7 separate regions of the Homo sapiens genome follow, and regions 1, 2, 3, 4, 5 and 6 are each linked to region 7. Evidence: promoter capture Hi-C in 16 types of primary human blood cells and fetal thymus (Javierre and others, 2016). All regions are on one chromosome and are shown on one strand. The core of a region is centred on a gene start or on the middle of the fragment in contact, and the rest is flanking DNA. Distances in the headings are between cores, read along the strand shown. Region 1 has its middle 28 kb from the start of SNORA50D. Region 2 holds the start of LOC107984116 (a long non-coding RNA gene). Region 3 overlaps LINC02198 (long intergenic non-protein coding RNA 2198). Region 4 overlaps SLC30A5 (solute carrier family 30 member 5). Region 5 has its middle 17 kb from the start of LINC02198. Region 6 has its middle 19 kb from the start of SLC30A5. Region 7 holds the start of OCLN (occludin).

The links. Contacts are between HindIII fragments. The CHiCAGO score rates a contact against its expected background, and 5 or more counts as called.
Region 1: a fragment that was not itself captured here is called in contact with the fragment with the promoter of OCLN in region 7 in 5 of 17 cell types (erythroblasts, neutrophils, total CD4 T cells and 2 more); the score reaches 5.8 in erythroblasts.
Region 2: a contact is called between a fragment that was not itself captured here and the fragment with the promoter of OCLN in region 7, in 4 of 17 cell types (total CD8 T cells, naive CD8 T cells, neutrophils and 1 more). The highest score is 7.4, in total CD8 T cells.
Region 3: a contact is called between a fragment that was not itself captured here and the fragment with the promoter of OCLN in region 7, in 6 of 17 cell types (erythroblasts, total CD8 T cells, monocytes and 3 more). The highest score is 9.9, in erythroblasts.
Region 4: a contact is called between a fragment that was not itself captured here and the fragment with the promoter of OCLN in region 7, in 1 of 17 cell types (monocytes). The highest score is 5.7, in monocytes.
Region 5: a contact is called between a fragment that was not itself captured here and the fragment with the promoter of OCLN in region 7, in 2 of 17 cell types (erythroblasts and M2 macrophages). The highest score is 7.8, in erythroblasts.
Region 6: a fragment that was not itself captured here is called in contact with the fragment with the promoter of OCLN in region 7 in 9 of 17 cell types (total CD4 T cells, neutrophils, M2 macrophages and 6 more); the score reaches 7.6 in total CD4 T cells.

Annotation. Positions count from the first base shown.
Region 1 is chr5:69,131,212-69,133,990 of GRCh38, forward strand. No RefSeq gene overlaps it. Among named protein-coding and RNA genes, the nearest start is that of SNORA50D, 28 kb to the right of the region's middle. The HindIII fragment of the contact is 4,208 bases long and covers 1-2,779 here.
Region 2 is chr5:69,005,404-69,008,158 of GRCh38, forward strand. All of the region lies in intron 1 of LINC02198 (long intergenic non-protein coding RNA 2198), which reads right to left. It overlaps LOC107984116 (a long non-coding RNA gene), which reads right to left and starts at 1,782. Exons shown (of 3, transcript XR_001742709.2): 1 at 1,624-1,782. The HindIII fragment of the contact is 3,932 bases long and covers 1-2,755 here.
Region 3 is chr5:69,026,681-69,029,854 of GRCh38, forward strand. LINC02198 (long intergenic non-protein coding RNA 2198) reads right to left here. Exons shown (of 4, transcript NR_130778.1): 1 at 3,108-3,174. Among named protein-coding and RNA genes, the nearest start is that of LINC02198, 1.7 kb to the right of the region's middle. The HindIII fragment of the contact is 656 bases long and covers 1,076-1,731 here.
Region 4 is chr5:69,102,852-69,105,915 of GRCh38, forward strand. It overlaps SLC30A5 (solute carrier family 30 member 5), which reads left to right. Exons shown (of 16, transcript NM_022902.5): 3 at 211-277; 4 at 1,780-1,865. Among named protein-coding and RNA genes, the nearest start is that of SLC30A5, 10 kb to the left of the region's middle. The HindIII fragment of the contact is 4,406 bases long and covers 1-3,064 here.
Region 5 is chr5:69,045,403-69,048,325 of GRCh38, forward strand. No RefSeq gene overlaps it. Among named protein-coding and RNA genes, the nearest start is that of LINC02198, 17 kb to the left of the region's middle. RefSeq lists an enhancer at 1,088-1,232 and a cis regulatory region at 1,155-1,165. The HindIII fragment of the contact is 1,941 bases long and covers 460-2,400 here.
Region 6 is chr5:69,073,151-69,076,123 of GRCh38, forward strand. It overlaps the pseudogene LOC100130639. Among named protein-coding and RNA genes, the nearest start is that of SLC30A5, 19 kb to the right of the region's middle. RefSeq lists a silencer at 1,898-2,066. The HindIII fragment of the contact is 6,468 bases long and covers 1-2,973 here.
Region 7 is chr5:69,491,006-69,494,181 of GRCh38, forward strand. OCLN (occludin) reads left to right here and starts at 1,785. Exons shown (of 9, transcript NM_001205254.2): 1 at 1,785-1,895. The HindIII fragment of the contact is 10,406 bases long and covers 1-2,135 here.

The DNA of each region.
Region 1 (2,779 bases), core at 73-2,572, 360 kb before region 7:
TATTAGAGTGAGAGAGAGCAGGGGCTGAAGGTTGGGGAGGTACAATTATAAAGTATGGAAACTCTAATATTGAAAGCACCAGGGTACTGTATTTCAGCTCATGCAAATCATGCAACTAGGCCAGGTGCAGTGTCTCTTGCCTGAAATCCTGGCACTTTGGGAGGCTAAAGCAAAAGGATAGCTTGAGCCCAGGAGTTTGAGAACAGCCTGAGCAACATAGCAAGATTCCATCTCTACAAAAATTTTTAAAAATTAGCTGGGGCATGGTGGCACATACCTCTTGGGAGGCTGAGGCAGGAGGATTGCTTGAACCTAGGAGGCCAAGGCTGCAGTGAGCCATGATGGCACCACTGCTCTCCAGCCTGGGTGACACAGAAAGATTTTATCTCAAAAAAAAAAAAAAAATTCATGCAACTTTAGGCAAATCAGCCTTTCTGAGGTATCTTTTTTTTTTCCTCATATATAAACTATATAAAACCTGCTCAAATTTACAGCACAGGATATGGGAACAAAAGGTATAATGTATGTGAAAATGCAGTGGAAGTTGAAAAAGGCTAAATAGGCCGGGTGCGGTGGCTCACGCCTGTAATCCCAGCACTTTGGGAGGCCGAGGTGGGCGGATCACGAGGTCAGGAGATCGAGACCATCCTGGCTAACATGGTGAAACCCTGTCTCTACTAAAAATGCAAAAAATTAGCCAGATGTGGTGGCAGGCGCCTGTAGTCCCAGCTACTCGGCAGGCTAAGGCAGGAGAATGGCGTTAACCTGGGAGGCGGAGCTGGCAGGCAGCCGAGATAGCACCACTGCACTCTAGCCTGGGTGACAGAGCAAGACTCCATCTCAAAAACAAAAAAGAAAAAGGCTAAATACGAAGAATTGTTACTTTTTAAGCCTGACTTCAAAGGTAGCCGTCATTAACTTGTCTCTTTTTTTCTATAAATTAGCATCTCAAGAGATTAATTAGATGTTTAACATATAAATAAGTTAAAAATAATGCCCAAAATAGAAGCCTGTTTTGAGGGAGGGGAGTTTGGATTTTTTTTTCAGAGACAAGGTCTCACTCTGTTGCCCAGGCTGGAGTGCAATGACATGATCATTGCTCACTGCAGCCTTGAACTCCTGAGCTCAAGCAATCCTCCCACCTCAGCCTCTCCAGTAGGTAGGACTGCAGGTGCACATTACCATGCCCAGCTAATTTATTGTTTGTAGAGACAGGGTCTCACCATGTTGCCCATGCAAGTCTCGGAACTCCTGGGCTCAAGTGATCCTCCCACCTCTTCTTCCCAAAGTATGAGGATTATAGCCATCCTGGCTAACACGGTGAAACCCCATCTCTACTAAAAATACAAAAAATTAGCGGGGCGTGGTGGCGGGCGCCTGTAGTCCCAGCTCCTCGGGAGGCTGAGGCAGGAGAATGGTGTGAACCCGGGAGGCGGAGGTTGCAGTGAGCCGAGATCGTGCCACTGCACTCCAGCCTGGGTGACAGAGTGAGACTCCGTCTCAAAAAAAAAAAAAAAAGAAAGAAAATAATACAATCATTTATGGCTTTTTGTGTTTTATTTATGTTTTTATTTATTAGTTTTTAGAGTCTCGCTCTGTCGCCAGGCTTGAGTGCAGTGGTGCAATCTGGCTCACTGTAACCTCCACCTCCTGGGTTCAAACGATTCTCCTGCCTCAGCCTCCTGAGTAGCTGGGACTACAGGTGCACGCCACTACGCCCAGCTAATTTTTGTATTTTTTTTTTAGTAGAGACAGAGTTTCACCATGTTGGCCAGGATGGTCTCGACCTCGACCTTGTGATCCATCCGCCCACCTCGGCCTCCCAAAGTGTGGGATTACAGGCATCAGCCACCGTGCCCGGCCTGTGTTTTATTTTTAATTATAATTCTTTTCTTCTGTTATAGCAATTTATGGCGTTTTAAACATTCAGTAAATTAACTCATAACAAATACTGAAGGCCTTTATACTAAATACACTGCACTAGGAGCTAGGGATAAAGTCCTCAGTAATACAAAGTCCTGCCCTAATGGAGCTTACTTCTAATGTAGAAGACAAGACCAGTATGTAATAAAATGTAGTAAGTGCTGTGAAGAAAAGCAATAACTTACTGAACTTTTGCCATGTTCCAGATGGACACTGTTCTAAACAATAAATATGTGTAATTATTATTTCCATTTTACTGATGCAGAAACTGAGGCAGGAAAAGGTTAATTAACCTGCCCCAAATCATACACGTTATAAGTGGGAAAGCCAATTTTCTCAACTAGGCACTCTGGATTCAGGGTTGAGACTCAACTAAAGCAGCGTTCAAGGACAGAGTTATAGAGGTGCCAGAGAGTGGTTGAAGAGGATTTCTATGGAAGAAGACTTCAGCACTGCATTGAAGTCAGGAGGCAAACAATCTCCAGGATTCTAAACCATCTTCTACTAACAGCTACTATTCTAGACTGAGAGAACATCAAATGAAATGCAAGGACATTTGAGACAGGAGGTGCTTAGCATGATTAAAAAAAAAAGAAGCAAGAGGCCGGTGATCGCAGCAAACTTAGACAGACAGCATGTTGAGAACTTGGAAAGTCTGTGGATGGCTCCAAATAAGGTACTGACTTGAGCCAATGTGTTTCAAAAGAATCAGGGTAGGAGAGCAAGAGTGGAATCTAGGGGACAGTTGGAAGGCTTTTGCTGAAGCTGAAATGAGAGAGGATGGTGACTTGAACTAAGTAACATATTCATGGCCCCTTATTTGTAAACTTGAAAGATGAATCAGATACAAACCCTA
Region 2 (2,755 bases), core at 104-2,603, 490 kb before region 7:
TCAAAAATTAAACACTAGCATCTGCAAACCTTTAATACTCAAAATTCAATCTTTCCTGAATTACCTTAGATTATTGATAGAACAATCTCATGCCAGGCAGACACAGCTACTAGGAGAAGGGGCCAGGTTCAAGTTAAGACAACAGAAGAATTTTCCAGCACCTCCTTTCCAGCCAGAGATAAGTCTCCATTGGCCAGTACTGCCAGACAGAACTCCAGAGATCATGGCCAGGGATCCTGGAGTTTCTCAGCTCACACAGGACCACCATTTCTCAGGGTGTCATTTGACCAGCCCCAACCACTCCAGTACTCTGCCCATGTCCACCAATGCCATGTCCACCACCTCATGGGTGTCACATGTGGTTATTCCTGGAGGTAGGTTAAGAACCAGACCCTCAGCCAGGTGTGGTAACTCACACCTGTAATCCCAGGACTTTGGGAGGCTGAGGCAGGCAGATCACTTGAGGTGAGGAGTTCGAAGTAAGTCAGCCTGGCCAACATGGTGAAACCCCATCTGTACTAAAAATACAAAAAATTAGCCAGGCATGGTGGCTTGAGCCTGTAATCTCGGTACTTGGGAGGCTGAGGCAAGAGGATAGCTTGAACCCAGGAGGCGGAGTTTGCCATGAGCCAAGATCAAGCCACTGCACTCCAGCATGGGTGACAGAGAAAAACTCTGTCTCAAAAAAAAAAAAAAAAAAAAAAAAAGAACCAGACCCTCTACTCCAGCCCTTGCCCTTTCAGGCTGGGATGAGGGAAGGAGGGCTAAGTCTTGGAAGGAGAGATTCCTGGATTAACTTCCTCAGCCCACAACGACTGGCAGTTGCCACCCACTCCAGCCATGTGCCTGTTCTCACCCACCCACAGGGTTGCCAAGGCCTGAGGGAGGTGGCACTGGCAGAAACCATAATTAGGGATTTCATCATATACTTTAGCTAGAATTGAGAACAAATTCTTCCTTACAACATGCAAATCTATTGTTCGACTTTCAAACATCCAACTAACTTTCAAACACATTTTTGGGAACCCATTAGATACGTAAGGAAGACACTACCTCTTCTGAACTGTAGACATGGCCTTGAAATTCAGACAAGAGCATGTCCAGGGTTGACACAATAATGGAAGATTCAAAAAACACGTGATGAAAGAGAACATGGAGGTCAGCAAACATGGTCCAGCAAGGTCCAGGTTGCACCAAGGCAAGCACAGACCCAGAAGCTATGAGGGAAGGAAAGGGGGAAGTACAAAGAGGGTCTTCATCCCTCCTGTGTCCCTGGCTTCAAAGGAGTGAATTCCCATTCAATTTCATAAAAGACTTTTCACCATTTCCTATATAGACAAATTAAAGCAGCAAGTTGACCATCTGAATAATCTATTGTTATAGATCAATGTCTGGATATTACTGGGGGAGAGAGGTGTTTGAGCTTTGAGCTTTTTCTCAAAGGCTAAAGGGACAAATTTTAGGATTTTCCCAAATTATCTCAATAATTTTTTCAACCCTTCACTTCAGACAAAATATTTAAGGAAATGCTATTTCCATAGTATTCTTGGGTCATACCTATAGAGCCACAGCCAAGGGAGGGGCACAGGAGGGAAGAAGGAGGGGTAGAGTCACCCAGATTACCTGTCTGGTTGCTTAGACTGGTCCAATTTCACTAAGAATCACACAAACCTCTTCATTCCTTCTGCTTTGTTCACCTGACCTTTTTCAATTTCTTTTTCCTTTCTCCATTACCCTAAGGGAGTAATCTAGCCACTCTGGCTTTCTTTGCATGCAAAATGTAACAGTTCCTTCTTTCGTCTTTCAGATAAAGGCAGTCTTGGGGAGGGGAAGAGAAAAGTGCCTGGCTTCTCCAAATTAGCTCTGAAATAAAAGTCACTGCCAGATGTTATATAAAAGGTGACGTAATCCTAAAGTACTTCATTACATATGCAGCTCTGCTGTTCAGCCCAGGAGGAGTTTATTACATTTTGTCGATCCCATTTTCTATACCCACATCATTTTTACATAATTTTTCCTGCCTGACAGACATCTTCACATTTTCACAGCAACCCATCAAGATAGCGTTACAACAGCACAGGAAACCAGGCTAGCAGTTTACAAATAATGGTGTTAATAAGTCAGATTTGTCCCTGAGATACAAATCAGGAGTAAATGGTCTATCCATGTGTGTGAAAAGCACATCTATTTCAGAATAACAGGGAAGAAAGCAGAGCACCATTTCAACTGGCACCGTGTTCCTTCAGAACACGTACCAAACCTATTCGACAAGTAGGAAAATGGAGAAATGTCAATCTAAAGTTATTCTTGCAATTCTTTTCGTTTTCCTAATAAATTCTTGGCTCAGAGTGAAATAGATGACCATGGAAAATGCATTAAGATCAAACTTCCTGCCTTTTTGGATTGCACAAAATTTAGAAGAAAATACACCATTCGTACCAATGAAGTATCTAGCTACTGAGATGCTTTAAGTGCAAACACTGAGAGACACTTCCTCCCACTCGCCAGGTGCTAAGCATCCTTCCCTGTCTCCCTGGGCACTCATGGCCCCACTGCCCCCTGATGGTAAAAAGCAGCAGTGCAGGCTGGACCATTCTTCAAGGAGGATTGACAGACTGGAGTGGACGGTTCAAAGGCATTTGCCTTAAGGTCAGTGTGAGAGGCCAAAGACACTGAGCTCCTAGTTACTAGTCAGAAACAAACTTATGCGACTCAGAATTCCAGTGGGATAAGAAAATGCCTGTGACTCCCACCC
Region 3 (3,174 bases), core at 154-2,653, 460 kb before region 7:
AGGGTGCTGAGGTGGCCTTCAGGAAGAGAGATCTATAAAGATGATCCCGGGTGGTGCAGTTATCCTTTGGCTCCCTCTCCAAGAGGCATCTGTCTTGATCAACATACGTTGTTTTTCAAGGTGGGTGATTTTTTCAGCCAGACTTGGATTTCCTTTGGATGTCTCAGTATGCTGAGAGTGGCGTATAGGACAGCTCTGTTTCACTCAAGTTATAATACATTGGGACTGGCTAAAAAAGATAAAGGAAAGGGAAACATTTCCCAGAGTGCTTTGCAGAACACTGGTACCCACTTAGAGATTTACAATGGATATTAACATTCCAGTCAAGGTTCTGGAAAAATGGTCAGCAAAAGAGCTTATATGTCTTTAATCAGCAGCTCCCAAATGTAATGTGCCACAGAGCTTTTTTCATGTAAGACATCTTGAGAACCCTGGCACAAAGGACAAAACAATAAGATTCAAAATTACTGCTTGGTGATATGAGGAGAGAGCACATTAGATATTATCAAAAGAAAATTATAGCATTCATATGTCTGCCTATGAAGAAACTGTTTTAACTTCAGCTTCAGTTAAAAGTTAACTGTTGGCCAGGCATGATGGTTCACGCCTATAATCCCAGCACTTTGGGAGGCCGAGGCGGGCGGATCACCTGAGGTCAGGAGTTCGAGACCAGCCTGACCAACATGGAGAAACCCTGTCTCTACTTAAAATACAAAATTAGCCAGGCATGGTGGCACATGCCTGTAATCCCAGCTACTTGGGAGGCTGAGGCAGGAGATTCACTTGAATCCGGGAGGCAGAGGTTGCAGTGAGCCGAGATCACACCATTGCACTCCAGCCTGGGCAACAAGAGTCAAACTCCATCTCAAAAAAAAAACAAAGTTAACTGTTTTAATGTTAACTTCAACCAAGAGGAACTCCTGTCATAAAAGAAATTGGATGGAGGAAAGGAAGTTGGCGGAGAGGGAGGAGGTGACGAGAAATCATCTGCCATGGCCACAAGAGAACGGGAGAGTGCAGCTCTTGCAGAAAAAGAGCTAAAGACACAAGTCTCCTGCTTGTTGGAGAGAAAAGAAGCTTTGCACAGGCAGGGCCAATGTATGCTACATTAGAGGGAAGCCTTCCATGAAATCAATAGAGGAAAACACAATACTTAAAGACTGCATAAGCAAAGATTAGAATTTATGAGTAAGGCCTTGGAAGCAAGAAAAGGCTGAGACAAGAACAAGACAATACCTACAGAAGGAAATCCAGACCAGGCCATAACTAGTCACACAAGTTAAATGCTCGTGTTCAGTTCCTCAGTGAAGTGATCCTGGAAAATAATATGAATAGCAAGGCTGACCTTAGAACTACTGTGTATCATTATAGTTTATTGTATATTGACTGCTGCAGGTGACTCTGTTAAATAACCTACATATTCTTCTCATAATAAAGTGCTTTTCTCAACCCCATAAAGTCCTGAGTTAAATAAACCTATTAGGTGAAAATGTGAATAGATCAAGCACTGTAAAAAAAAAAAAAAAAAAAAAAGTTGAAAATGTAATCAATGACATAATTTCTAAAGTGGCATCTGGCCTAAGAGAGTTGTATTCAATGAGTTCCACCAAACTTCAAGAAACAGGTGATGTTTGGGTGTTTTTCTATTTCCACAAGGCATCAAAAAAAATGCAGGTAATCTGAGGACCACCATTGGAGAACCACTGTCTTTGTAGAATGCCGCCTTAATGAAGCTTATTTTGATCTGGGTGTGTTTCAGCTATTAGAAAAGGAGGATTCGAACTCTAAACATGGAAGACAGGGCAGCAACACAGAAAGGAATTATATGAAGATCTCCTTATCAAAGCGGCCTGGCAAATAGGGCACAATGAGATGCAACAAAATTAGGCAGACCAGTCTTCCTAAAGATCCAGCTAAAACCAAAGAAGATAATTTGGAGTTGGGCCAGGGTAAGATCCAGAAACTAAGATTTCTCGGTTATTTATAGAGCAGTCATCATATTTGTAAGATGCCTATGAGATACATATATATGACAAAGGAAGGAGGTGGCTCAGGTCTGTCTATTAGGGATTCCTTCAGCAAAGTCTCAACTGGGATCAAGTCTTGTTCAAAGTAAAGCCTTCTTTCTAAATCCACCTACCTCTGTTAACTATTGTTTTCTTCTGTCTCTTCTCAACTATGCTCTTACTGAAACATCAGCTCCTGGGACATCCCTTGTCTTGTTTCCCAGTTTTGTTCCTACCTATGTTTTGCCAGGATTCAGAGGAGCTGGGTTCTAGGCTTGATTAAAATCTTTCTAATCGTGTCATCTTGTTAACATCTTGTTGGTCATCTGTTTACACCTCTTGAATATCAGATCTAGCCCAGATCTGATCCTTTCCCCCATACTCATATTAAAATGCACCCCCACCTTCGCCTGTAGAGGGCCATCCTTGCCCCACTCCACATATTTAGCTCAGGAGTTATTGTCTCCATCCTGGCTAATCAGAGTTAACCACATACTAGGAAAACAGAACTAAGAGATGTCAAGGGAATCTGGGCCCTGATGGTATCAATCGAACATCTCTTTCAAGGCACATTGAAAGCTCACTCTAGTCCTGAACTTTTCAATTCTGTGAGCCAAAACACAGAGACAGAGACAGACAGAGAGACAGATACCTTTTACTGTGTAATCCACTTTGAGTTTTCTGTCGCTTGTAATGCATCTTTCTTGGAAGCATGTTTTTCATCAATAAAACAAGGATAATACTTGCTACCAAGCTTCAGTAGGATGTAAGTATTTTGGAAAGTCTAAAGCCTATTCAAACATAAAGTATTATTCCTACTTCCTCTTTTATGCTCTTGCCTGAGTTCCTTGCATACTAATACTTTCAAAGCATAAAACATAATACTATACCAAAAGAACATTTTCATTACCTGATATTCCTGTTCTGTGTTCAGGGACTTTTGATCCCATCTGTTCTACAGAATCTTTTATATAATAGAATTCTTTGAAACCAGACCAGCAAAGTTCTGTTTCAATGAACCATTTGTTCCCTAAGCCACAAAAATAGCTCCTGCAAATAAACCCTATGTTTAAAATGGTGTTTGTGAAAACCTCATTTTACCTGTGATATATATGAATGTACTTTGGAAATAAATTTGCCTTGTAAATTTGTCATTGATGTCTAGTAA
Region 4 (3,064 bases), core at 433-2,932, 390 kb before region 7:
TCCATCTCAAAAAAAAAAAAAAAAAAGTTATCAAAATATTGCAATAGGAGTTTTACTAAAATAAGTATAATTAATTCTCCAGTATGATTTATTCAGAGGATAACACTTCAAGTTCTGGCATATTTGTTTAAAATAAGTGTCTTTACTTAAAACTGTATCTTGTGTTTAATATGGATTAATATTAATATATTAATGTTTCAATATTTACAGGACTGCATTTTTTATGGTTTTGTTTCAAAAGCCATTTTCTTCTGGGAAAACTATTACCAAACACCAGGTAAGATTTTTGCAGAATCTTTTATTCCTAGCAGCTTCTCGTTTAGTGGGCCAGGAGGCAATGCTTATTTTTTATAATGGGTACTTAATGAATGATTTAAGTATGCCACAGAACAATTTTAGAGTTAACTTGCTCTTGTCTTTTCAGAATGGAGACTTTAAATCATAAAGTACTAAGATCATGGAATGTTTTTAAAAAAAACAAGAGGGTAAAAAAAATTATAAAGCATTCATGTAATTGTTTTCTTCAGTACACACTTCTTATTCTGAAAGATTTACAAATTGGACATGAAAGCATGCCCAAGAGCCTAGTACAAATGTCACTGGAAAGCTGACAAAGCATAGGGGTTAAGAGTGTGATTTCTGGAGTCAGACAAAGTCATGTTCTGTCTGTCCTCCTTACTGACCCTTACTTTGGGCAAGTTACTTGATTTCTCTCTACCTTAATTTGCTCACTGTAAAATGGAGATAACAGTAACTTCCTAACAGAACTGTGAGGAAAAATGAATTAATACTTATGAAGTTCTTAGAATGATGCCTCATCATCATTGTGACAATGTGACACCCTCATGATCATTGTCACTGTTCTCTTTAGGCAGCTGTGATTCAAACTAGAAATGTCCTACATTTTGCATAATCATCTCACATCGTCACTTCTTTGGGCAGCAGTTATACCATAGTACATGTTTGCTTTATGCCATGACTTACAAACCTGCGTCATAATTTTTTTATTAGAAAGACGAATTTAAGTACTTCTGTTTCAGAGACCAAGAACATTTTTTAAAATATGATTAATAGTCTAAACCCCATTTTAACTTTTTTCTCTCCTTTCAGATAATTGGATCACTAAAAATTCCTGGTAGAAAAGAATTTAAAGACAAAAAGTTAAATGATCCTAGGAAACTAGTGGGAAACTGAGAAATCATAAAATTGTACTCTGAAGAAAAAGATTTCAAAATCTACCAGCAGACAAGAATATAGATAATGGAAAACAGAATACTGTCCTTTTTTTTTTTCTTTCTTTTTTTGAGAAAGAGTCTTGCTCCATCGCCCAGGCTGCAGTGCAGTGACACGATCTTGTCTCACTGCAACCTCTGCCTCCCGGGTTCAAGCGATTCTCCTGCCTCAGCCTCCTGAGTAGCTGGAATTACAGGCACCCACCACCACACCCAGCTCATTTTTGTATTTTTAGTAGAGACGGGGCTTCATTCACCACATTGGCCAGCCTGGTCTTGAACTCCTGACCTCAGGTGATCTGCCTGCCTCGGCCTCACAAAGTGCTAGGATTACAGGCATGAGCCACAGCACCCGGCCCAGAATAAGAATACTGTCTTGGAAATCTAGACTTAGTCAAGGGATCTTATGTTTTCTATTTACAAAATATGTAATGATTTCACCTTTAAAATATTTGTTATTATTATCTTTCTGTATTTTATTTAAAATTTGGATATATAGCAAAATATATGTGACTGAAATTTTTAATTTTTTTGTTTCCATTTATAGTGGATCAAAATATTTAAACATGCAGTTGCTGGGTGTATTATTTCACTCTTGTGGTTTTTTGGCCTCACTCTTTGTGGACCACTAAGGTAAATAAAAATGCATATTTTGAATGTGTGTTTGTATTTCTTCATTTTGAATATTATTTTTGTTCCACTGTGTTTTACGTCAAATATTTATCTGTACAAATGTGTCTAGCACTTTTATAGCATCAGAGAGAATTCAACAGATAGAACAAACCTGTTTAGTTTCTGGACTAGTTCTTTAGTGAATACCATTAATATATTTATTCATGATTTGTCATAGATATTTTACTAGTTAGAATTCCAAGTTTCAGAAAATTTTTAGCATAAACGGCTTTTTAATCATTTATTCATGATCCCTGTTAACAGCTTAGAAGCTATAATAAAAGGTCTGAAGTGGTAAATAAAATTAGCCAATAAGAAGGAGAACAAAAATCTCTAAAAGCACTCATTTTTTGCACAATTTTGCAAATACTCTCATAAATAAATGTCTCAGAAGTAGTATATCAATTATCAGATTAAATGCGTGGTGGATAAAGTAAACTACTCCCATTTCATATTTCCCTAGATCTATATAGATTAGTCTTTTTCTGCAAGTGGACTGGTTTAAGGAGGAAATGCTTAGGGACCATTGATAGGAATTGTATCATGCAGCTGTGTATGAGCATTCTTTTAACATTTCCCCATCTGTAAAGGATTTTACTTAGTGAATAAGTGTAAGAAAAAATGCCTTGCCGTGAGAATGAGAGGTAAGGAGTGAAATGAAGAATGTTCTTGGCCAGCACTGTGGCTCACGCCTGTAATGCTAGCACTTTGGGAGGCCAAGGGGTGGATCATTTGAAGTTACGAGTTGGAGACCACCCTAGCCAACATAGCAAAACCCCGCCTTTATTAAAAAATATACAAAAATTAGCCAGAAATCACTTGAACTCAGGAGGCGAAGGTTGCAGTGAGCCGAGATCACGCCACTGCACTGCAGGCTGGGCAACAGAGCGAGACTCCGTCTCAAAAAAAAAAAGAATGTTCTAAAGCAGAGAGATCCCCCACCCCCTGGCTATAGACCAGTATGGGTTCATAACTCATTAGGAACCAGGCCACAGAGCAGGAGGTGAGCCACGGGGGAGCAAGCATTACTGCGTGAGCTCTACCTCCTGTCAGATCAGCAATGGCATTAGATTCTCATGGGAGCAGGAACCCTGTTGTGAACTGTGCATGGGAGGGATATCTAGGTTGCATGCTCCTTATGAGAATCTAATGTCTGATGA
Region 5 (2,923 bases), core at 180-2,679, 450 kb before region 7:
GAGCCAGTTTATCGATCTCGGTGGTTCCAGCTGATCCATCAAGTGCGGGTCTGCAAAATGTCTCAAGCACTGATCTTAGGATCAGTTGAGGGAGGATCAGAATCTTGTAGCCTCCAGCTGCATGACTCCAAAACCATAATTTCTAATCTTGTGGCTAATTTCTTAGTCCTACAGAGGCAGTCTAGTCCCCACACAAGAAAGAGTTTTGTTTTGGGAAAGGGCTATTATTGTCTTTGTTTTAAACTATAAGTTCCTCCCAAAGTTAGTTCGGCCTATGCCCAGGAGGGAGAAAGGACAGCTTAAAGGTTAGAACCAAGATAGAGCCAGTTAGATCTCTTTCACTGTCTGTCATAATTTTGCAAAGGCAGTTTCAACCCTAAGGATGAGGCACACCAGTGTCTCTGTAACTCAAGCATCTTAAACATAGATGTGGTTTGCCTCCCACCAGGACAAAGGAGAAGCTTTCTAAAGCTGATGAAAGAGCTGCTCAAGAGAGCATACAAGCGCAGTGGCTCATGCCTGTAATCCCAGCACTTTGGGAGGCCGAGGTGAGCAGATCACTTGAGGTCAGGAGTTTGAGACCAGCCTGGCCAACATGGTAAAACCCCGTCTCTACTAAAAATACAAAATTAGTCAGGCCTAGTGGCACATGCCTGCAATCCCAGGGAGGCCTAAGGCAGGAGAATCACTTGAACCCAGGAGACAGAGGTTGCTTGACCCGGGAGACAGAGGTTTCGGTGAGCCAAGATCATGCCACACTGCACTCCAGCCTGGGCAACAAGAGTGAAACTCTATCTCAAAAAAAAAAAAAAAAAATGCATACAAGTTTTTGGTTTCTAAAGCAAAATAATAATAATCAACTTGAGCCTATACTTGCTTCAAGAAAATTTTCAGTCAGATTTAAAACAAATAACAATCACAAAAAAAAAAAAAACCTGACTAGGCTTCTATGAGATTATACCACCTAAAGTATGCCCTAGCTCAGGCTGCCATAGCAAAATATCATAGGCTGAAGAGAAACAATGGAAATCTATTCTCTCGCAGTTCTGGACGCCGTTCCCAGAACTGGAAGGTGCAATGCTGCCGTAGCAACAAATAAACCCAGGTCACCATGCTGACTCTTCAGCTGCTGTGTTCATTGACCCACCATCATGGTGACTCAGCAACTTTCTTTCTCTGCTCCTCCAGCTCCACTGCTACCAACCTCTTTAATATCAACTTTGAGTATCTTTTCTCTACCTCACAACTAACATAACTTCTGCTAGTCCGTGGCTTTTACAGCCTCTTGCATTTGTGTACTGCATCTCTGGAGAGCCCAGATCTGCTTCCGTTATCAATTGTCTGCCTCTTGTCCTTTATTGATCACCAGTACAAATTCTTGAGAGAGAAAACCTGATTGAGTTAGCAAGTAACTATAGGCTTCCTCACAGGCCTCCAGCCCAGTGGGTCTCAAATGTGAGCATGGAATCACCTGGAAGGCTTCTTAAAACACAGATTGCCAACGGGAGTGGTGGCTCACGCCTGTAATTCCAGCACTTTGGGAGGCCAAGGCAGGCAGATCACTTGAGGTCTCGAGACCAGCCTGACCAAGATGGTGAAATCCCATCTTTACTAAAAATACAAAAATTAGCCAGGCATGGTGGTGCGCACCTATAATCCCAGCTACTCAGGAGGCTGATCAGGAGAATCGCTTGAACCTGGGAGGCACAGGTTGCAGTGGGCCGAGATTGCACCATGGCAGCACTCCAGCCTGGATGACAGAGTGATTCTCTGTCTCAAAAAAAAAAGAAAGAAAGAAAGAAAAAACACACAGATTGCTATGCACTACCCTCAGAAGTTCTAATTCGGCAGATCTCCAGCAGAGTCCGATCACCCATATTGCTATACATTTCCAGGTGATGCTGATGTTTCTGATCTTGAGACCACACTTTGAAAACCACTGCTCTAGCCTGTAGGTGAACGGTCCTTGGGTAAGATGTCCATCAGCTGTAGGCCGGGGAATATGTGATGTGGTTGTGGATGTGGCCACCTATGGATAAGGATAATAAGACTTCCAGGGGATTCTATGCTCACATTTGAGAACCACTGGGCTGGAGGCCTGTGAGGAAGCCTATAGTTACTTGCTAACTCAATCAGGTTTTCTCTGTCAAGAATTTGCACTGGTGATCAATAAAAGACAAGAGGCAGGAATTGGTAATGGAAGCAGAGCTGGGCTCTCCAGAGATACAGTCAACAAATGCAAGAGGCTGTAGAAGTGTCCATTTCCCTCAACAAAAGGCTCTGGACATAAACATTTTAATATGGCCTGTGGACAGGCAAGCTGTTGTCTGACATTTTCCCTGTTCTGTCTTTTACTATGAGACGTCCACCAGGCTTTCACTGAGTGCCTACTACATGCCAAGCTTTCATTGTGCTAAGCATTGGAGATATAAAACTCAGCCATTTTAACTTGTAATCACGGAGGACTTAGCTAGATAAATTTTAATGACTTGTAAAAATTAAGATAAATGTTTTGGTTCCCTTTTAAATAGAAAGACATATCAAAAGATAACTACAGAAATTCTCAAAAGTTTCCACTCAAATCGAGTTGTGATAAAAACAGAAGTGTGAGGGGTGCATAAGTAAGAAAAGCACATTCAAAAAAATAATTCAGTTAAAAGAATTAGTTATGAACTACTCAGAATGTTTAACACAGAGCAAACCAACATATATTATGTTGAAAATAAACTAGCCTCGGTGCTCTCAAAATCCAGATTCATGCAAAGAAGTAAAGCCAGCATTTCTGAAAAGGAAGAGTTATTCAGCAGATCTGCTAGAGGCAGGAAATAAGCAAAATGTATACTGAATTTTTAGTAAAGGCTAAAAACCTGCTTCCATCCCTAAGTCATTCAGGTTCCATTGCCCACCCTTCCCATCTCTGAAT
Region 6 (2,973 bases), core at 142-2,641, 420 kb before region 7:
CAACATGGTGAAACCCAGTCTCTACTAAAAATACAAAAAATTAGCCAGGCATGGTGGCAGGCACCTGTAATCCCAGCTACTTGGGAGGCTGAGGCAGGAGAATTGCTTGAACCTGGGAGAAGGAGGTTGCAGTGAGCTGAGATCGTGCCATTGCACTCCAGCCTGGGCAACAAGAGTGAAACTCCATCTAAAAAAAAAAAAAAAAAAAGAAGGTGCTATGGTATCAATGATAATTTCCTGATTTTCATGGGCATTCTGTGATTACATAGAAGAGTATCCTTATTTTTATGAAACAGACACTAAAGTATTTAGGGGTGATTGGCATCATGTCTGTAACTTATTCTCAGATGGTTCTGGAAAAAGAAATAATCTTTATCTATACAGAGAGAAAAAGAATAATAAGGCAGATATGGTACGTTACTAACGATTAGGGAATCAGGTGGAGGGAACATAGGAGTTCTCTACAGTATTCTTGAAACTGCATTAAGGTTTTTAATTATGCCCACTTTAATAGCTGTAAAATATTTCTTATAACTCTATTTTATAAATCCCCGGCATCTATTTAATTCAAGATCAGAATACAATAAGAGCATGAAGGTAATGAGAAATAAGTCAGGCACAAAGAGAACTTATAAAGGTAAATAAGAGCTATTCACTAAATATACTAAGGCCTATGAATCTTAGGTTCAATTTTTTTTTCTTTTTTTTTTTTTTGAGATGGAGTCTTGCTCTGTTGCCCAGGCTGGAGTGCAGTGGTGAGATCTCAGCTCACTGCAACCTCTGCCTCTTGGGTTCAAGCGATTCTCCTGCCTCAGCCTCCTGGATAGCTGGGACTACAGGCACACGCCACCATGCCCAGCTAATTTTTGTATTTTTAGTAGAGACAGGGTTTCACCATATTGGCCAGGCTGGCCTCTTGGCCAGGCTGGTCTCGAACTCCTGTCCTCGTGATCCGCCTGCCTCAGCCTCCCAAAGTGCTGGGATTACAGGAGTGAGTCACCACGCCCAGCCCTTGGGTTCTATTTTTTAATTACATATGAAATTTTAGTATTAAAGAGCCAGAAGGAGCTTGAAAAGTCTAGTTCCTCAAGTCTTTTCGTCATACATGTTTACATTAGGATGAAGAATAGAAAGGGGCTGAGTACTGTGAGAAGCCAGGAAATGAGGTCCCATGAAGAGAGACATGTTTTCCAAGGAAAAGGACAAGGGAAGTCCACTCACCATGGAAGAAAGTGCCACAGGGCATGCTAGAAAGGCCAAGGACAGCAGAGGGATGGATGGAGGTGGGGGATACAGGTTGCTGCCAGGCAGTGGATGTGAGATGGGCCCCACCCTATTTTGCACCTCAGGCCTGCCAAGCCGGGATCCTTCTGCCCAGCCAGGCTCTGGGCAAGGAAGAGGGGTTCTGGGAGGAAGTCCCAAACTCGAAGGGTGAAGGAAGATGGCAGTGCCGAGGCTTTGGGAAGGGAGCCAGAGGCAGGAATTGGAATTGGGGCCTGGTTTCCCCATGGCAGATTTCATCCAGGTCCAGGATCTGCCCTCTCTTGGCATTGACTGGCCAAGCCATGGCTCAGGTATTCCACACCTGGGCCCGGAACCACATGCCAGAAAACCCAACACTGTTCGGCCCCAGCCGGCAACTTCCAGCAGCCAGGAGCAAACAGGACTTGTGAAGGAGGCAGTGGATCTCCAGAGCCCAGCAGCAGGGAGGCTACTTTCCGGGAGAGGGCAGCAGCACAGGAGAAGGCCCTGCCGCCTACAGGGGTCCTACTCCACTCCGGGACCCTGCCCATCTGTGGCCATCCTCCCACCAGCAGCCTGTCACCTCCCATCCCTCCCGCTGGTGACAGGCACCGGGGTACCGTGCCCAGCCCCCGGGCACCTCCACAGGGCTGCCATGTGGCAGAGGAAGCCGGTGAACTGACGCTTGGCTGCAGCCAGGCAGGCCTAAGCTCTGTTGCCCCGCCGCATCCCAGCTACACCCACAGGCCTGGATGCCAACCAGCTGGCGTCAGTGCCCGCGGTGCCTTCCAGCACCCGCCTGTCCTGGAGGAGCTGCACCTGTCCCCTAATATCTTCACCCGCCTCTTAGGGGCAGCCTTCTCGGCCCTGGCGTGCATGGTGCACCACCTCCACCTCTCTGAAAAGCTGGCCTGGGTGCCCGTGGAGGCCTTCGTGGGGCTGCAGATCCAAGTGAACCAATCCGCCAACCCGTGAAACTGGGACTGTGCCCTCCAGGGAGTGCTCAGGCTGGTGAGGCTGGCGCCGGGCACCAGGACAGGCATCGTGTGTGACCCCAGAACCCGACCAGACCTCGGTGGGGCAGGAGCTCCTGCCGCTGGCAGGGGAGGAAGAGCTGTGTGGGTCGGGGCAGGGCCCAGAGGAGCACCAAGGTGGCCCCTGCCGTTGAGGGGTGGCTGACCTGGTGCATTATGTATGGTAGAACCGAGATGAAACCTGGCGCACCCTCAAGCGGCCCCTGTTGCCAGTGCACCCAGAGGATGACTCCACCCTCAGCACAGTGGTCTAAGGGTGCTCCTGGGGCCACACCACACACTCCTCCTCCTACGCCCTCTCCCTTCCTCTGACCCCCCGCCTTCTCCCTTCCTCTGACCCCCTCGGCTTCCTGTGCAGCCTCACCCCAGCCCCCTAAATACCTGTCCTCTCTCCTCTCTGTCTCTCTCTGTCTCTCTCTCTCTCACACACACACACACACACACACACGCCATCTCTAGTGCCTGGATTTATCTGGTGCTCCAACTTACTTAAAGAATGGGAAGGACTTTGGACAGAAAAGAGGGAGGGACCCTAGATGAAAGGCTGTGGAGGCGGCAAGGAAAATGTACAACTTGAAATGTCTGGGCAGTGGCAAGACCAGCCTCAGGGCTGGAAGAGAGGATGCAAAGAGGGACGGGGAGATGGTGAGACCAAGCTGCAGGTGGGGTCCGAAGTCGGGGTGCGGCCAGATTTAAA
Region 7 (3,176 bases), core at 535-3,034:
ACTAAAACCCACTGAATTGTACGTGCCCTTTAAAAGGGTGAATTTTATGGTATGTGAACTCTCTTTTATAAAGTGGAAAAAAACTCCTAAGATCTCTTCAGAACATGTCAAAATACATTATAAAATAATAGACATGTGTTTACAAATCTGAGAGTATTAGGAAATGTTCCCTTGTTTAATTATAAACCAAATGGAATGTTTGGAGATTTCAGTAATCTGACAGGGAACATTAAGGGGATTAACCTGACTTCCCCAGTGTTAACAATACCAATTTAAACTGCATCATTCAAAAACTACATAGTCATATTAAAGCATTTGTAGCAATGACTTCCACGAAAAAAATACCAATTAAATTAATTACCCATTAAAGCTGCCATCATCTGAAATACCTCATATTTATATAGTGCTTTTACTTCCTCAAGTATGAATTGTGCCTTAAGATCTAATGTATGGGAGAGTCACATCTCTAACCATTTAATTAAAGGTAGAGAAGTGGGTGGGATTGGATAGAAATTTATTAGCAATGCTGACATTCCAGATTGGAACACAAAGACAAGCAGGATGTAAGAAACCTAAAAGTTCGCTTTCAATGCAGATAGTTAAATGCCAAGAACTATAATTGCCACATCCTGGAGTACAATTAAAAAATATGTTGAAAAACAACCAACATACATAAAAATATACACAGTGTTAAGTGCAGACTATGAAATTTCCCTTGGAAACAGAATCCAGATCAAGAAATAGAATACAGCACCCGGAACTAAGGTGCTTTTTCGTTTTCTTAAAAAAAAAAAAAAAGTAAACCAAGTTTATTTTGCTTTTTAAGTAGTGTTGTTCTTAAAGCACTACAGGTTGGTAAACAACGTATAAGGTGCTTTTTCTCAGGCCAAAGAGCCATAATAGTTTAAATTTCCCGGTCCTCAAGAGCGGACCGGGTGGGCAGGAGAGGACCCTGGGGTGGTGATGTGTAAACTGTATTATGCACTTTAGCCTGCTGGATGGCAACTAACACCTACAGTAGTTCACCCTCATTTTAACCCCTCTAAGTAATTGTCTCTTATTCTGAATCTAGAGATTCAGAAACAGCGCCAATGTTTACACACGACTTTTGAAATTTTCCCAGGAGTCTTTCGTTGGAGCAATACATCTAGATGCCTTTTTCCAGCAACAGTTTAATCAAATTCTGGAAGCAGAAAAGTGTCCTGTGAGGACGTGCCTTTCCTATCAAAGTGCTGAGTGCCTGGACCCTCTTTCCGGAGGAAACAGTCCCCTCTGGACCTCGTTCGGCCTCTCTCCATCAGACACCCCAAGGTTCCATCCGAAGCAGGCGGAGCACCGAACGCACCCCGGGGTGGTCAGGGACCCCCATCCGTGCTGCCCCCTAGGAGCCCGCGCCTCTCCTCTGCGCCCCGCCTCTCGGGCCGCAACGTCGCGCGGTTCCTTTAACAGCGCGCTGGCAGGGTGTGGGAAGCAGGACCGCGTCCTCCCGCCCCCTCCCATCCGAGTTTCAGGTGAATTGGTCACCGAGGGAGGAGGCCGACACACCACACCTACACTCCCGCGTCCACCTCTCCCTCCCTGCTTCCTCTGGCGGAGGCGGCAGGAACCGAGAGCCAGGTCCAGAGCGCCGAGGAGCCGGTCTAGGACGCAGCAGGTGGGACTCGCGGCGCTGGCCCGCAGGCTTCCCGCACCCCCTTCCACGTTGGTGCGCATGCCCGGGGGCAGGGCCGGTTGTAGGGAGGAGGGAAAGGAGAGGGAGAAGGGGGAGGAGACGTCCCCAGCCCAGTCCCCGGCTGAGCGCTGGCGGTCGGTGCGGCGTCAGGTGCGCCCGCCAGGTGAGCGCGCTCCCTGGCACCGTTGGCCCCCGGAGGGTCGGGCCCAGTTGCGGCGAGCGGGTGAGTGTTGGGCGCGGCGTCAGGGGCGCACGGGAGCCCGAGGGTCCCCGTGGGGGGACCGCGGCGACTATGTTAGGGGAGGTGCCGGGGGGAGGACGCTCCGCGCTGGTTTCGGTGGCAGTTTCGTCCCCGAGCTGGGACTCGTGGGAACCAGAGAGGCGCGGGTCTGCGGAGAGAGCAGCACCGGCCAACTTGGGAGGCTGCCTCCTGGGGCGAGGGGTGGCTTGGAGCCGCCGATCAAGCTTTATTCCGCGGAAACGCTGAAAGCTAGCAGTGCCTCAGCGGCGCGGGCAACTTTTCACTTTTATGGGGCACGACATTCCTGAACAGCGACGATCCTGCATCCGCTCTGGGGCTGCAGTTTGGGGGGGCGGCCTTCATGGAGAGGGATCCTGCGCCCAGCTCCTTGGGGGTCCTAAGCCTGAGGCTGCAGCGAGGCGGCTGTTCGGCGGCCCGGGCGGCTTAGATCCCGGGGGGAATTTCATTCCTTCCGCTCCCACCCCACCCCTTTGGATATCCCGGGGAGACGGGGGCTGGATTCAATCTGTGAAATATTCCAGGAGTCACGGTGTGGGCCACACTGGCTACTTCGAATCCACTTGTTGCGAGTTGTGTGAACCCGCGTCGATTTAAGCTGGGGGGCGGGGAGTTAATTTCGAGTGAGGCTGGACTTCGAGGGAAGCTGCTCACGCTTCGGATTCTCATCCGTGACCAAAAGGGCTGCCCCCAGGGGGGCGGAACTGCCTCCGGGCGGTGCCTGCCCGGCGAACGTGGGCGCGCGCTGCCTGGGAGCGCCTCGGTGCGCACGGAAGCCGGGACCCGCGCCCAGCCGGGCCACGGAGTTTGGGGACCTCCGGGACTGGGCCGGCCCCGCGCGCCAGCCATGTTGCCTGCGTCGGAGGAAGCGTGCGGGGAGCAGGGGTCGAGGGCCAAGATGGCCTCTGCGCCTAGGGGTTGGGAGCGGCGCCGAGCCCCTCGCGCTCCTCGGGAAGCCACCGGGCCCGAGGGAAAAGCCGCGGCATCCTTAGGCCGGACCCGGGGCTCGCTGGCCACACTGCCCGCTTGGGGAATTACCCTGCTCGAGGAGGAGGCGGCGGCTTTCCAGGCCAGTCAGTGTGTGGCCCTTAGGCAACAGGTGTATTATTGGGATACCTGGAAAAGAGAAACGTTTCCCATGAAGGCACTTATGGTGTTTTTTGGTGATTCTTGGTGTGATAGAAAACTAGGCGTTCCCAAGTGTAACAATAGTAACAGTAGTTCTTTTGCACTGTACATATGAGG